Regions from separate parts of the Homo sapiens genome. Here region 2 is linked to region 1. Evidence: promoter capture Hi-C in 16 types of primary human blood cells and fetal thymus (Javierre and others, 2016). All regions are on one chromosome and are shown on one strand. Each heading gives the region's core, a stretch centred on a gene start or on the middle of the fragment in contact. The rest is flanking DNA. Distances are from core to core; before and after follow the strand shown.

Region 1 (7,894 bases), core at 3,860-6,359:
CATTCTTGAATACTCGATTTCCATGTATTTTAATGTAATCTTACTCTTCTTTGTCTCTGTATTACGTGGGACAGTACCAAGTATGTGCAACACTGTCTCAGATGTTTTTTTATTTTACTCAAAGAACAGTTGCATGAGCTGGAAGGTATGTGAGAGTTCCTAAGAGCAGCAAATTCATCATAGATATTCAAGTATACTCTACTGAATTATCTAATGCTACCTGACTTCTGTCTTACTTATGTGTATTAGGGGTCCCAGATAGAGGCTAAAAATATGTGACACACTGGTGGACAAAGGAATCCAAACTTATTTTATGTGAGAATTTTGGCTGGAAAAGTTGAGCACCTGTGAGAAGCACCAGGGTGGGGAGGATCATCTGGTATCTGTTTCAGATATTGATTATCTAACCAAGGCAAGGATTTATTTCTAAAATTATAAATAAAAGAAGTGTGTGAAGAAAATGAAGGACCCACTGAAAAATAGTGCCTAAGCCACCTTATATCTGTGCCTCAGTAAATAAGTAGGCATAATGGGGATTCTCCTAATTTCTTCTTTGAATACAGCTTAGTGTCTCTGCCTATAGCAGGAATAACAGCAGATATAGTGGCATACCTACCATCTCAGTGGTTTGGTGTTTTGAGGTAATTGAAAGACAGCTCCTTCGTCACTGACATCAGTTTCTTAAAGGGGGAATAGACTGCAGTAATAGTGAGGAAGCTCTGCCCTCAGGTGGCTTCAAAGAGTGTAAATCAATGAAGGGTAGCCAGAGCCAGATAATATTGAGAGTTCATAAGTACATAAGAAACATCTCTTGGGGATTCCAAGAAACACTTGGTAGAAATTACTTGCTAGTAATTGCACAGGAGAGCAAGAGCTTATGGTATGCACCTAGGTGAGGTGAACAAGGGCCAGTGACATTTGAAATTTTATTTTGGCCTTTGCACAGATTGGTGTGGCCAAGAAGAAATTCGGTCACATCTCCTACCTGTTATCCTGTGCGCAAAGGAAAGAAGAATGAATGAAAACTATCTTTTATAGCCATTTAAAAAATAGATCATGTGCATTGTATTGAGCCAAATAACATTTCCTACAAAGCTCTTCATCTAATAACTTAAAGATATGGGATCATCATGGCCAACTCTGTAAGAATAATGGATGCTAGCAAAAAATAAAATAATACAAGAAAGACATCTAAAGTTATAAAAGTGTGCAGGACAAATAATTATGATGATATCTACTATATGAGAATATTTATATAAGAAACGCTTTAAATTATTTTAAATATTAATAATTTTTATAATTTAATTGTTAAATCACTTTACAGTCTAAATTCTTGGGCACATAGCTATTTAAATATTCTTTTCCTGTGAATTCCCATCATTTCCAGATTGGCTTCTTTTGATGATTTTCTTTCTGGTTATGTATCACAATATCCTGCTTCTTTATATACTTAGAAATTTTTGTTTGGATGCTGGATATTGTGATATTAAATTATTAAATTATATATTTTGTTGTATTCTTTTAAGTTGTGTTAGACTTGGTTCTCCTAGGCAATTACTTGTGGACTAGTTTGATCTTTTCAGTCTTGTTTTGAAAGCCTTTTAGGAAAAAGCTAGGTCTGTCTTTGCACTAGAGATAATTTATCCCCCTTACTCTACCTAATACCCTAATATTAAAAGGTCTTTTTACTCTGGCTGAAAGAAACACAAACTATTTCTATCCCTATGTGAACACCAGAAATTATTTGGCCTGTTGATTTCTCGTGGATCCTTTCAGATCTTCAGGTAATTTCTTTTCATGACTGCTTAGCTCTATATTCAGCCAAAGTCTTCAGGGGATCCTTCTGCCTATCTCCAGAGTTCTATTTCTATGCAACTCTTTCATTTCTGGTCGTCTTGCCTGTAACTTCAAGTTGCCCTGGCCTCCCCAAACTGATCTCTATTTTCTTACTCATAGAAACTTCCAGCCTCTGTTTGAATACTCCCCATAGACTGCAGGGGAGGAGACCGCACCCAGGTTGCAAACTGGAGCACTTTTAAGGCTCACCTTGTTTTGTTTTTCTTCTCTCAATAATTGCAATCTTGTATTGCTTGTTAGACAATGTGTGAAATGGTTTGCTTTATGTATTTTTGTCATTTTCTAGTTGCCTAAGTCAAAAGATAAAATCAAATATCTGTTACTCCACCATGGCCAATATCAGAAGTATTAATTCATTTATTTTTACAATTTATCATTCATAAAATTTTCTAGTATATTCTTTTCTGTCAAGCTAAAATGTGAATAACTTAGGAGTGGAGATCATGTCCTGTTTCTCTTTGTATCATCAGCATCTCCCATTGAATTTTACACAGGGCCCTAAAAAAGATAAATAATATTCATTCAGCATTTCTGTATCATACAATTGGTATAAGTGCTTTTAGGTTAATCCTACTTTAGCCCCGCACCGTTGAAATTCTCATTTTGTAGATAAGTAAGAAACTGAGATACAGAAAGTTTCGATAACTTGCCCAGGATCATAATTCAGGTGTGCTCAGCACATCTTCTATGAATAAATGCCTGACTGCCTAATGAGTTCTGGGGAAAAATGACCATAATATATACAATGGTAATTAAACCATACAGTTAAACTAAAACTTTTTTATTTATTTATTTATTTTTAGAGCCAGAAAGAGCCAGAGAGATTTAAATCACAAAAGATTTAGGTGACCGAGAAAAGGACCAACAAATCTGGCCTTTAATACAACTGTTGGGAACTCATTGTCTAGCAAGTCTTTATTTTATTGCCAAATGCCCATAAAAAGATACCAAGGGAGCTATTTCTAGTGCTTCAGCAAAATAGAACAACTTATAACTGGATGACCCTCAAAAACCTCCAGTTCAATAGGTCCACCCCTAAGAAACCCCTCCTATTTTCCTTTCTTTTTTTTTTCTTCTTCTGTTTTTTTTTTTTTTTAGACGAAGTCTCACTCTGTCACCCAGGCTGGAGTGCAGTGGCTTGATCTTGGCTCACAGCAACCTCTGCCTCCCAGGTTCAAGCAATTCTCATGCCTCAGCCTGTTGAGCAGCTGAGACTACAGGCATGCACCACCACACACAGCTAATTTTTGTATTTTTAGTAGAGACGGGGTTTCACCATGTTGGCCAGACTAGTCTTGAACTCCTGACCTCAAGTGATCTGCCTGCGTCAGCCTCCCAAAGTGCTGGTATTACAGGTGTGAGCCACCGCGCCTGGCCCTGTGTTCCTTTTCTCATCAAATATCTTTCTTTTTCACTCTGTATAGCTAGAGGCTTGGTACCTTCCTGAGTCATACCTCTTTTTCTCTCACTTCTCACATCATCTTTACTTGATCTGGCCAATAGAGGTTAAAACCAAGTCTCTAGAAATATTCAAGAGTGCCTAATAAGAAAATATTTTTTAACTTTACATGCCTTACTAAAAGTAGTGATATTTTATTATCTATTATTTTATTTAAAAATGGAGAGAGACATTGAGGACCGGATAAGTTGTAGCATGGTCAAAATCTGTGGAAAATAAGTGAACTTAGCCAGGACTAGAATTGGAGATCTCTGAATCCCTGTTAGGTTTCTTTCATGGTATTTAAAAACAAAAACAAAAACAAAACAAAACAACAGAAAAGCGAGGTCTCACTCTGCCACCCAGGATGGAGTGTAGTGGTGCAATCACAGCTCATTGCAGCCTCAACTTCCAGGGCTCAATGAATCCTCCAATCTTGGCCTTCCAAAATGTTGGGATTACAGGTGTGAGCCACTGCACCCAGCCTCCCTTCGTGGTATATGCAAGATACTTCATGGATTGAATTTTCTCCCAGACATGATCAGAGTTTTCCTTCAGTTTGGCATGATCATTGCTCATCCTGGGGCACCATCTCAGTTTCTGGCACACCAAACACCACCATAGTCGTGCAGAAAGAATGTGTTGAAGATAAGAAATGTGTGCCATTGGGGGAGGGCTGGGGGTTGGGGAGAGCATTAGGAAAAAGAACTAATGCATGCTGGGCTTAGTACATGGGTGATGGATTGATAGGTGCAGCAAACCACCATGGCACACGTTTAACTATGTAACAAACCTGCACATCCTGCACATGTACCCTGGAACTTAAAAAAAATAATAAAAAAAGAAATGTATTTAATGTAGTGTATACCAGTGTCAAGTTTTCCTTTGTATCAAGGTCATGATTCTGTTCACTGTCTCTCTCAACACTTCCTGTACCTTCTCATTCCTCAAGCTGTAGATAAAAGGGTTCAGGAGAGGGGTCACCACTGTGATGAGGACAGCGGCCACCTTGTCATAATCCAGTGAGGAGTTCTGATTGGGTCTCACATACACAAAGATGTTGCTCCCGTGGGCAATGGAGACAACAGTGATGTGAGAAGCACAGGTAGAAAAAGCTTTCTGACGGCCCTGGGTGGAGGGGATACGCAGGATGGTAGAAATTATGTACACGTAGGACCCAGTAGTGAATGCCAGGGAGCTCAGGATGACAAGGGCAGAGAGGAGAAAGTTTATCTTCTCAATGAGGTGAGTATTTATACAGGCCACCTGAAGAAGAGGGGCAATGTCACAGAAGAAATGATTAATTTCTTTCCTACAGTAAGGTAGCCTTGTCACTACAATGGTTGGAAACAACACAGACAGGAAGGCTCCCACCCAGCATCCCAGAACCAGCAGAAGGCAGGCCCTGCTGTTCATGATGACCGTGTAGTGCAGTGGGTCGCAGATAGCCATGTAGCGGTCAAAGGACATCACCGCCAAGAGGATAAACTCCACCGTCCCCAGAAAGAAGTAGAAATATGTTTGGATCATGCAACCAGCAAAAGATATGGTTTTCTCTTCTCCTAGGAGGCAGGCCAACAACTTTGGGGTAATGACAGTGGTGTATAAGATATCCAGAAAGGACAAATTACTGAGGAAGAAGTACATTGGAGTTTGCAGGCGATGATCAATCCATATCAGGGAGATGATGGTGATGTTTCCTGTTGCTGTTAATGTGTAAGTTACCACAAGAACCACGAAGAGAGATATTCGAATCTCCAGGAGAGCTGGGAAGGCAATTAGGGTGATTTCAGTCACAGTGCTCCAGTTTCCCATGACAACTACTATATGGTGGGCAGGGTTTCCCTGAAGAAACAAGAAAAGGAAAATCAGCTTAGGTAATTTTGTAAATATCTGCTGAGAATGTATTGCGGAGAGTGGCTTATATTGGGAGATGTAGACCTGGTATGTAGTCCTCTATCTGCAAGTTAATTATTGTGCCACACTGGGAAAGTCAAGATACTATTTAGGTACATGGTTTTTTTTTGTTTGTTTGTTTGTTTTTCCTGTAAAATGACGGAATAAGGCTGGATAAAAAAAACTCAACTTCCTTCTAGTTATAAAATTCTATTCCTTTTCATTGATGAAATTTCTAATCTTTTCTATTCTTTTGGCTTCATTTTCTCAGCTAAAAATGTGCTAATGTACTGATGTATACTTAATCAGAATGCCCTTCTATTATTCTGGTTTACAGTTCCTGAGTGGCAAATCCTTTAGAAACGTAAAGTCTTTTCTATAACAAACTTTCTTTCACTTTGGTGGTTGTCATTTAATAAAGGTTGATTTAGTTTTTTCTACATTTGTAGATATCCAGAGTCTCCGAATTCTTAACATCTTTCCCTAGCATGTATAGATCTGTGAAAACTGTCCAGAGATTATTAAAAGGAACAACAGCTGACGGTTCCTATTAATCATTTTAGATGACACCTCAAAAAGAAATAATGAGTGTCTCGCCCTTAGATTATGCTTTTGTGTCTAAAACCTACCTTCTACAAGTTCTGTGCAGTATCTAATATGTATCATATATCTGGCTGATCATTTGAGAGCACCGTATATAGTGTGATAACATCAGAGAGGCACAAATTATATACAGGAAGGCAACATAGAGGTAATTCACCTCACTTCATTTACTTTGTCAGCCGACATTGTGAAACTGTACTTCAAGATCATCTAGTTTGTTCTTTGTCCCACAATGTGAGAAATGATTATTTTGCAGAGACCTCCCCATTTTAGGTAAAAACCAGCCCATGCTTTAACTCTGACCTTGGTGCTTTATTTATCTAGATATCACTTAGCACCTCCTTAATAAATCCTTAATAGATAAGTTAGCATCTCCTCCACTCTTTGCTACTGATCGTGGCCACCTCTTTTTCTTTTTCCAAACTCCCCCTGCACTTTCCTCCAAGATAAAAAATTTACCCTCTTATTTTATTTTTCTTTTTATTATACAAGAAAGACATTTTTAGTGCAAAGAATTAAAAAATGCAAGTGCAGAAAAGAAAATTATAATCTGTAATCGAACTTCTTAGAGATACAGTGACCTTTTGGTGTATATAGTTTTAGGCTATTTTAAAGTTCAAAGTACATACTTGTGTATCTAAAATAAATCATACTAGGAGACTATTTTGTAATTAGCTTTTTTCCTTTTCCTTTCTTTCTCTTTTCTTTCTTTCTTCCTTTTTCTTAAAACAATTTAGCATCTTTCCATGTCAACTCCTAGAAGTCTTCACAATCATTTTTGAGAATTGTATAGTGTTTGATTCTATCAGTGGGACTGTGATATATTTAGCCAGTTGCTTAATGCTGAAAATTTAGATGGTTTACATTTCTTGCTTGTATAAATAATGATCAAATAAATATTCTTCCACATAAATTTTTTGTGCACTTGTCTTATTAATTCCCGAGAATCTTTTCCAATAGGGTGTTTGCCCTCACTATTTGTTACTCAGTACAAAAACCCAAGAAAGATTTATTCTTATAATATTAGATTTTACTTTACTAGAGCAGTTGATAATGTAAAATCACTTACAGATCTCTTTCATGGGTTCTTAGTCTGAGGGAATAGTTCTATATCATAGCTGGGCTGGGGTAGCTGATGCCTCAATGGCATAGAAATACTGTGCTCTTTTTTTTTTTAAATAAATCTTATTTTATGCTCTGAACTTCAGTTTTCTCATCTTAGAATGCTGGGCTGCACATTTAAAAGGTCCATTAAAGTCTTAGGGTCCTACTATCAGTACTTTTTGACTCCCTGACCCACCCCAAAGATTGTAACTTCTTTTATTCTCCAGTAAATAAACTCCTAAATTATTTGCTAAGTTACTGCATAAAAGTGGCTAATCATGAATACATATACTAATATAATAGCATGGGAAATTACATATGAACTTTCTATACAAGGCATTTTGTTACCTGTTTTTTGTGTGTCTTGTATTATTATTTCCATGGGGTTTTTCAGCAGGCAAATTATATTTTACAATTTTTTTCGGTTTTCAATAAAAATAGATCTTTATTGAGTTTTTAGTAGTTGCCAGACATGATCGAAAGCAGTTTACTCTTTTAATTTTCATTATAACCTATGAGATAAGCACTACCTTTATTCTTATTTTTTTATTTTACTTTAAGTATATTTTACATTTTAAGACTCAAGTATTAATTAGATTAATGTGAGATAGTTTGAAGAATTGGGTTCCAATCCTGGTTTTTACCACTTGCAGCTCTTTTTTATTGAATTAAATTCGTCACCTCTGAGTCATAGCTTCTTTATCAGAGAAATAAAGATAATTCTAATGTTCAAAATGACCTGCCATGAGGTTTAAATTAAATCATATATGTGACAATACCTAATAGATTCTTGCTAAAAAATTGATTCTTTTAAGAAAGGAGATGAACAATTAACACTAATTGTTTCTTATCTGAATTAATAACAATAAGTCATGAAAAGATTAATTTTTAACTGAGGAATATTTCTAATGCATACTTAACCTGAATCATTCCAGATTGGCTTCTGACTCCATTCATTAAGAATATTGAAAGATTAGAGCGACTATACACAGAAAA
Region 2 (7,894 bases), core at 3,766-6,265, 250 kb after region 1:
AGCTTGGCTAATTTTTTGTACTTTTAGTAGAAATGGGGTTTCACCGTGTTAGCCAGGATGGTCTCGATCTCCTGACCTCGTGATCCACACGCCTCGGCCTCCCAAAGTGCTGGGATTACAGGTGTGAGCCACCACGCCCGGCTCTGAGTACATTTTTAATTATATCTTCATCACATGTGCAATGCTTTTGTTATTACTACATTATGACTCTTAACTTAGTCATGTATATACTCAAGCCTTGGTTGGTAAACCAACTTCATTAAACATTTACTACTACATACGAAAGCATTTTATATCCATCATCTCTCTTATTCTTCACAACAACCCAATAAGGCAGGACATATTACCCATTTTTCTTTTGAAGGAGACGAGGCACAGAGAGGTTAAGTCAGCTACTCAAGGGCCCAGAGGTAGCAACTGACGGACATTTCAGCCTATTGACAGCAATACTGATAATGTAAAAAAAAAAAAAAAAAAGTGTGTCAAATCAATGTAGCAGAACGCTTGGTTACAATCATCCAGTTTACTTCGCTTTAACTTGGTACTCACTAAGCAGTTTCCTGAGAGAGTATTTTGCTTTTTTATTTCTTCCAGACAGAATCTCGCTCTGTCGCCCAGGCTGGAGTGCAGTGGCACTATCTTGGCTCACTGCAACCTCTGCCTCCCGGGTTTGAGTGATTCTCCTGCCTCAGCCTCCTGAGTAGCTGGGACTATAGGCACATACCACCCACCTATGCCTGGCTAATTTTTGTATTTTTAGTAGATACGGGGTTTCACTACATTGGCCAGGCTGTTCTTGAACTCCTGACCTCAGGTAATCCACCCACCTTGGCCTCCCAAAGTGCTGGGATTACAGGCGTGAGCCACTGGGTCCGGCCAAGTATTTTGCTTTGAATCTACAATTTTCCTATTTGGAAAAGAATATGCCAACCCATCAATGCATGTATTCTAATGAATATGGCTTTTTATTTCTCTTTGTAAATTTACATATTGGCATTCTACATATATCATGTAAAATAACATATGCAATTTATATGTAAGTCTTTTGAGAACCAATATCCCTGATTTAATCTGGCTGGTTGACAACTACTAAATTTCTGCAGCAGATTAAATGGATAAATGACTTGAAAGGTTTAGAGACAACACTTTAAATATAAAGAATAATAAAATTTCGAGGTTTGTGTCACTTGTTACTTTAGTGACTCTTGAGGTTTTGCCAAGAACAGCAGTTCTGGGAAGCTGAAATGAGATGATATTTCTAGGGGCTCATTATTGCTTGTATCTTCTCTCTCTCTGTCTCTGTGTGTGTGTGTGTGTGTGTTAATGAGTCATAGGGATAGTAATTATGAGATGTATAAGCCACTTGAAGAAGTAATTCTGGAATTACTTACATGCAATATGAAATACTCAACTTATAATAAAGGCAGTTGAAAAAAGGAAGATTGGGGCACATCAGTAACTAAAACTTATCTCAGTGCTGGGCTGATTTTCACCAATTCTATGATGTTTTTTTATAGTAATACAGAAGAAAGAAATTGAAATGACAAGCTGAAACTGATAATCAAAGTCATATATATTTTTTCCACAATTCACATGCTGAACTGTTTAATATGTGATACAATCCAAAATAATTCACTTTTGACTAGATGATGATCATGATCTTGATATCTTCAAAGCATTTCTATGTTTAAACCAATAATCTTTTAAGGGCTTATATGCACTAGGAATAAACTTAGAATCTTAGCCTATGGTCCAAGAGATGTAAATATCCATACAATGGAAAACTATTTGTCGTTATAAAGGAACAAAATATTGGTACATGCAAAAACAGAGATACCTTTTAAAAACATTATGTTTCCTGAGAGATGTCAGGTCAAAATGAACACATATTTTATAATTCCACTTAAAAGAAATGTCCCCAAATGGCAAATATATAAAGAAAGAAAGTAGATTTGTGGGGGCCTAGTGTTGGGGATAGGAATGAGAATAACTATAATGATCGTGAGGCGTCTTTTTAGTGTGAGGGAAAAATTCTACAACTAGGCTGTGGTGATAGCTGAAAACTCCGTAAATATATATTCTTTGCAAATATGTATTTACTGAATTGTACATTTAAAATGGGTGAACTTTTATGACATATACATTACTTCTCAATAAAGCTTTTAAACACATAGAAATTATCACTAGTTAGAAAAATTTAAGATTTTATGTTGATCTAACACAAAACTAAAGAACAAGAAAATGGGTAGGAATGAGAGACTCTGCATGTTTACTTTTTAAATTCGTATTCAAAATATTTATTCTATTTTGTTAGAATTGGGCATAAATGTTAAATGCAGTCAGACTAAAACTCAAATCCAAGCTCTATGATTGACTTTTGGAGTCAACTTTGGCAACTGTTTTAACTATTTGAGCCCTATTTTTGTCTTTAAAAGAAAATTTAACTAATGGGGCCAATGCAAGAATAAAACAAAGGGGCCTTGGGCAGTCTGGTTTTTAAAAAAGAAAGATTCTCAGTAAGCAGTCATTACTGTTTTAAAACATGGAGGTGGCAGTCTCTTCTGTACTTTTTCTGGCATAAAGAAGCACAATAATTATAAAAATGCTGATAAACTTACTTATACAACAGTATAGTTGTAATTTCTGTGCCTTCTATATTTTCTCAAAGGGATTTTAGTCATAACATTTTTAATAAACCCATTTGCTTTTTGTTTGTTAGCCAGTAAAAATAACATGCTCACAGATGTACTTAATCTACCCTTGTCCACTCTGATCCATCCTCTACACAGCAGTCAGCAGACTGAATTCTTAAAATATACATCCAACCAAGTTACAGTAATTAATGTATGCTAAAATTAATGTCAGTAGCAGTCTTAAAGGAAAATAAAGAGAAAATGTGCATGTTCTCACTCATAAGTGAGAGTTGAACATTGAAAACACATGGACACAGAGGGGAACAACACACACCAGGGCCTGTTACGGGGTGGGGGTGAGGGGAGGGAACTTAGAGGACGGGTCAATAGGTGCAGCAAACCACCATGGCACGTATACCTATGGAACAAACCTGCACATTCTGCACATGTATCCTGTTTTTTTTTTAAGAGGAGACTAAAAAAATAAAATGAATAAAATATGAATTCAATCAGTTGTGGAAGTGATAATGGGGGATTATAAAGCAAATTGTAGAAAAAAACAGGTGCAGCTGTGTTTTGTTTTGTTTTTAGCATCAGATGGGATTGTTGCCTGTTTAAGTGGTTGCTTTCCTAATTTCTGGCTCTTTCTTCAAACCCAGATTCTCCAGGTAAAGGATCACTGGGCAATCTCAAACATCTGAACTTCATGGATGGCTCGCTCCTAGAGGAAAAACAGCCCAAGAATTATTGTTAATTAAAGAGCTTTAAACTGAATATAACTAAATACCACTGTATAATTGCATTTCAGTCTAAGAATTAATGAGGTAGATGCAGTGGGGAGAAAGAGAAGGGAAGAGAGGAACGCCTCCAGTCTAATTGCTTCCTTGGTTCCACACTTCCTTAGTGCCCATTAGGGAAGAGGGTCCCAAAGGAACTGAAGACTTTTATTCACTCTTGAGGGCTTGATTGCTGCTACTTCATTCAGGGGCCAGGGGCACTGAGATTTTCTGGCCTGGGTGGCTGAGTCTGAAAAAGAGGAACATTCGGCTTTTCTAGCCCCAGAGCCACAGATGATCCACAGCACCTAAAAGCAAAGGAAACAGGGCTGGGTGGACGTAGGGCCTGGTTTTCAGCCCAGGACAGCCACATTTCCCTTCAGTCTGTGAGTGCCTTTTCTCTGGAGTGCTCCCCTCTCATCTTCTGATGAGTTCTACGCACTAGAGGAAGGTGGGAAGAACGTGGGAATTGGCTCTGTTTGACTTTGGGCTAAATCTGACTTAGTTGACTCCATGGTATTTTATTGAGCTATTACCTGATTAATGAAGCTTAACCTTAGAAATTTTAGGAAATGAATAAGATGTAAAGTGATAATGGGGAATTATAAAGCTAATTCTAGGAAAAATGATGATTATTTGCAGTCAAGTCACAGATATAATTGCTATTGGACACTAAACTCTATTAAAAGAAATGGCTGTTTTTAATATCAGTAATTATCTATTGCTTTTTCCTACCTACATATCATCTTTTCTATTCTTTTATTTCTTTATTTTTATTTAAGTTATTTTTGGGACAGGGTCTCACTCTGTCACCCAGGCTGGAGTGCAGTGGCATGATTTTGGCTCACTGCAATCTCTGCCTTTTCAGCTTAAAGGATCTCCCCACCTCAGCCTCCCAAGTAGCTGGGACTACAGACATACACCACCACACTCAGCTAGTTTTTTCTTTTTCTTTTCCTTTTTTTTTAAATTTTTGAAGAGACAAGGCGTCACTGTATTGCCTAGGCTAGTCTCAAATCCCTGGGCTCAAGTGATCCTGCCACCTTGGCCTCCCAAGCTGCTGGGATTACAGGTGTGAGCCGCCATGCCCAGGCTTCCTTTCTGTTTTACACCCATTAGACAATTCTCAGTTTTCAGTTACTCTAGCTGCTGATTGAGAAAGCTGCCTCCCGGATCAGTCACATGAATGGGTAATCTCAGAACTGCTACAAGTCAACTTAGAGAAATGCTGTGGAATAAGGCACACATTAAATAATTTGATGAATAAATTTTTTAACAAAGATGGGTAGGAGCCAAAATTATATGGGTACTTTGCAGACATCAATGCATTAATGTACACAGGAACCATAATATATTATTTTACTATTTATATATATTCAGAAAAGATTTAAAGAGTTTTTTTCAAGGTCATCTGATGTCAGAGTGGGCAGCGTGTTTAGTATGTAAACTCAGATACTTCCAGTTGTAAAGTTTATTCTACACCTTCTCTTCTATATCAACTCTAGTGTTGTCTCTTCATTTTACTTATGAGGAAACAGATGAAAAATAGATTAATAACTTACCCAAATGTCACTCAATAATTAATGACAGGATTGAACTGAGTCTTATTTAGAAGTTCTCCACTCTATATACTTATTATCAGTTTGCGATAGGCTCTATAAAGAGTTTTTTGCAGGAAAAACTCATCTCAGTGAGGCCATTGTTTGATGTTCCAGGACTAATTTGACATGAAGATAAAGAATCACACTCCAGTAACTGAGGTCCCCCTGATGGGAATCCCTCATACAAAGGGGATGGAAAATGTGCTTTTTGTCTTATTTCTGGCCTTCTACCTCTTCACCTTGCTGGGGAACCTACTCATTCTTCTGGCCGTCCTCACTTTCTCCAACCTCCACACCCCCATGTATTTCTTCCTGGGAAACCTGTCTGTGTTTGACATATTTTTCCCTTCAGTGAGTTCCCCCAAAATGATGCTCTGCTTAGTGGGACAAAGCTGCACCATCTCTTTCCAGGGTTGTGCCTCCCAGCTCTTCTTTCACCATTTCCTGGGTTGCACCGAGTGTTTCCTGTACACTGTGATGGCCTATGACCGATTTGCAGCCATCTGCCACCCTTTGCCATACACGGTCATCATGAAACGCAGGGTGTGTGCCCTCCTGACGCTAGGCACCTGGACGGGGAGCTGTCTGCATGCATCTGTCCTCACACTCCTCATCTTTAAGTTATCCTACTGTGGCCCCAATGAAGTGGACAATTTTTTTCTGTGATATTCCGGTGGTGCTGCCCCTGGCCTGCGCAGACACCTCTCTAGCACGGACAGTGAGTTTCATCAACGTAGGTGTTGTTGCGCTCATGTGTTTTCTTCTTATCCTCACCTCTTATGCTTGCATTGTTATCTCTATACTGAAAATCAGTTCCTCAGAAGGTAGGCGCAGAGCCTTCTCAACCTGCAGTGCCCATCTGACGTCCATCCTGCTCTTCTATGGACCAATAGTCCTCATTTATCTCCGACCTGCCTCCAGCCCTTGGCTGGACTCTGTGGTTCAGGTGTTGAATAATATTGTTATCCCTTCCCTGAATCCTTTGATATATACTTTGAGAAACAAAGGTGTAAAGCTGGCACTGAGAAAGGTGCTCATTCAAGGAGTACATAATTGTGGAAGGTAAGCTTTATATCCTGGTCTGTCTTTACAGCTTTGTCTTGAATTTATCTGGGGGCAATTAGCTCCTATATTTTGTTTGATGACTGAGTACCAGGCGCTATTTACAAATACTGATACATGTAATGATTATAATAATCATATGAAGTAGATAATACTATTATCTCGATTTACGAGGGAAAATTAAGGCACTGAGAGGCTGAGATCTTTCTGCAGTGTCATGGAGTTAAAAACTTGCTGGGCGAAAATGTGACCCAAAGCGTCTTAACCATGTGCTAATGCTGCTTCTGTAGTGTCTAAATGGTAACATAAATACTTCTCTCAGGAGCTTCTTTTCGGTTTACACAGAATATTCTTCAATTTGCCAGCAAATCTAGTACATTAAATTTGCTCCATTGATTTCTATAACTTTTTTTGAGTCTATATTTTGATGGATGACATATGTCTGAGTCTGATACCAAGAAATTATCTGGCTGGGTATGGTGGCCTACGCCTGTAATCCCAGCACTTTGGGAGGCTGAGGCAGGCAGATCACTTGAGCTCAGGAGTTCAAGACCAGCCTGGTCAACATGGTGAAACCCCGTCTCTACTAATAATACAAAATTAGCCAGGCGTGGTGGTGGGCACCTGTAGTCCCAGCTACTCAGGAGGCTGAGGCAGGAGAATCGCCTGAACCTGGGAGGTGGAGGCTGCAGTGAGCCAAGATCACAGCACTGCACTCCAGCCTGGGCGATGGAACGAGAGACACTGTCTTAAAAATAAAAAAAAAAGAAAGAAAATAAAATCTCTTTAGAAGTCAATTAGTACCCATATATCCAAAAAGATGTATTAGTATAGGCTGTCTCTCAGGTAAACATATTATTTCTTTATAACAACAATTTCAATTCTGTAAGAGGATTACAAGTTTGCTTTCATTCAGTCAGGGACTAAATTTGAATTCCAGAACTTATGGGCCTTCAAAAATAATAGTCATTGTTTTCTCATGTAAATAGCTTCAAAGAAAACTAGGACACTGCAAAAAAGTAAAATGAGTAGAAATTACTCACTGATCCTACCACCAAGAGATAACCACTGTTAATATTTTGTCATTTTTCCTACCTCTCTCATTAGTGATTAAATTGGAATTAGGGTTTCTGACTTCTTGTTTAAATTTTTTTCATTTCTATCTATGTCATCTATATCTATATCTATATTTATATTATGTATCTATATATGTATATATTTTAGAGAGATTTATAGTTGTGATTAGCTCATATATATATTTTCTTGTTTTAATCATGTATCAAGAATTTTCAATTGCCATAATTTTTTAAATAGCTTTTTTGAGATATAATCACACACCAAATAATTTGTGAATTTGAAGTGTACAATTCAATGGTTTTTCATATATTTACATATGTACCACCTTTACCACAGTCAATCTTAGAACATTTTAATCACCACAGAAAATGTCCTATACCCTTTAACCATTACCTCCCTGTTCCCACATCACCCTTAGTAAGCAAACACTAATCAACTTTTTATATCTATAGACTTGCTTATTCTGGACATTACATAAAAGTTGAATCATATAATATGAACCTTCAAAGCCAGTCTTTTGTGACTGGCTTATTTAAATGAGTATAATATTTTCATGATTAATCTATGTTCTAGCATTTTTTTTATGTCAAATAATATTTCACTGCATGGGTACACCACAATTTGTTTTTCCATTCATCAGTTGATTAACATTTGAGTTATTTCTACCTTTGGGTATTTTGAATAGTACTGCTATTAACACTTGTGTGTATGTTTTGTTTGAACACCTGTTTTTAGTTCTTTTGGA

Evidence for each region. The method cuts DNA at HindIII sites, captures the fragments that hold promoters and counts their contacts. A CHiCAGO score of 5 or more calls a contact.
Region 2: a contact is called between a fragment that was not itself captured here and the fragment with the promoter of OR6M1 in region 1, in 1 of 17 cell types (endothelial precursors). The highest score is 5.2, in endothelial precursors.

The regions. Positions count from the first base shown.
Region 1 is chr11:123,801,240-123,809,133 of GRCh38, forward strand. OR6M1 (olfactory receptor family 6 subfamily M member 1) reads right to left here and starts at 5,110. Exons shown (of 1, transcript NM_001005325.1): 1 at 4,169-5,110. The coding sequence starts at 5,110. The coding sequence ends at 4,169. All of the region lies in intron 2 of LOC105369544 (a long non-coding RNA gene), which reads left to right. The HindIII fragment of the contact is 4,667 bases long and covers 4,409-7,894 here.
Region 2 is chr11:124,049,657-124,057,550 of GRCh38, forward strand. It overlaps the pseudogene OR10D5P. Among named protein-coding and RNA genes, the nearest start is that of OR10G7, 12 kb to the left of the region's middle. The HindIII fragment of the contact is 2,119 bases long and covers 3,957-6,075 here.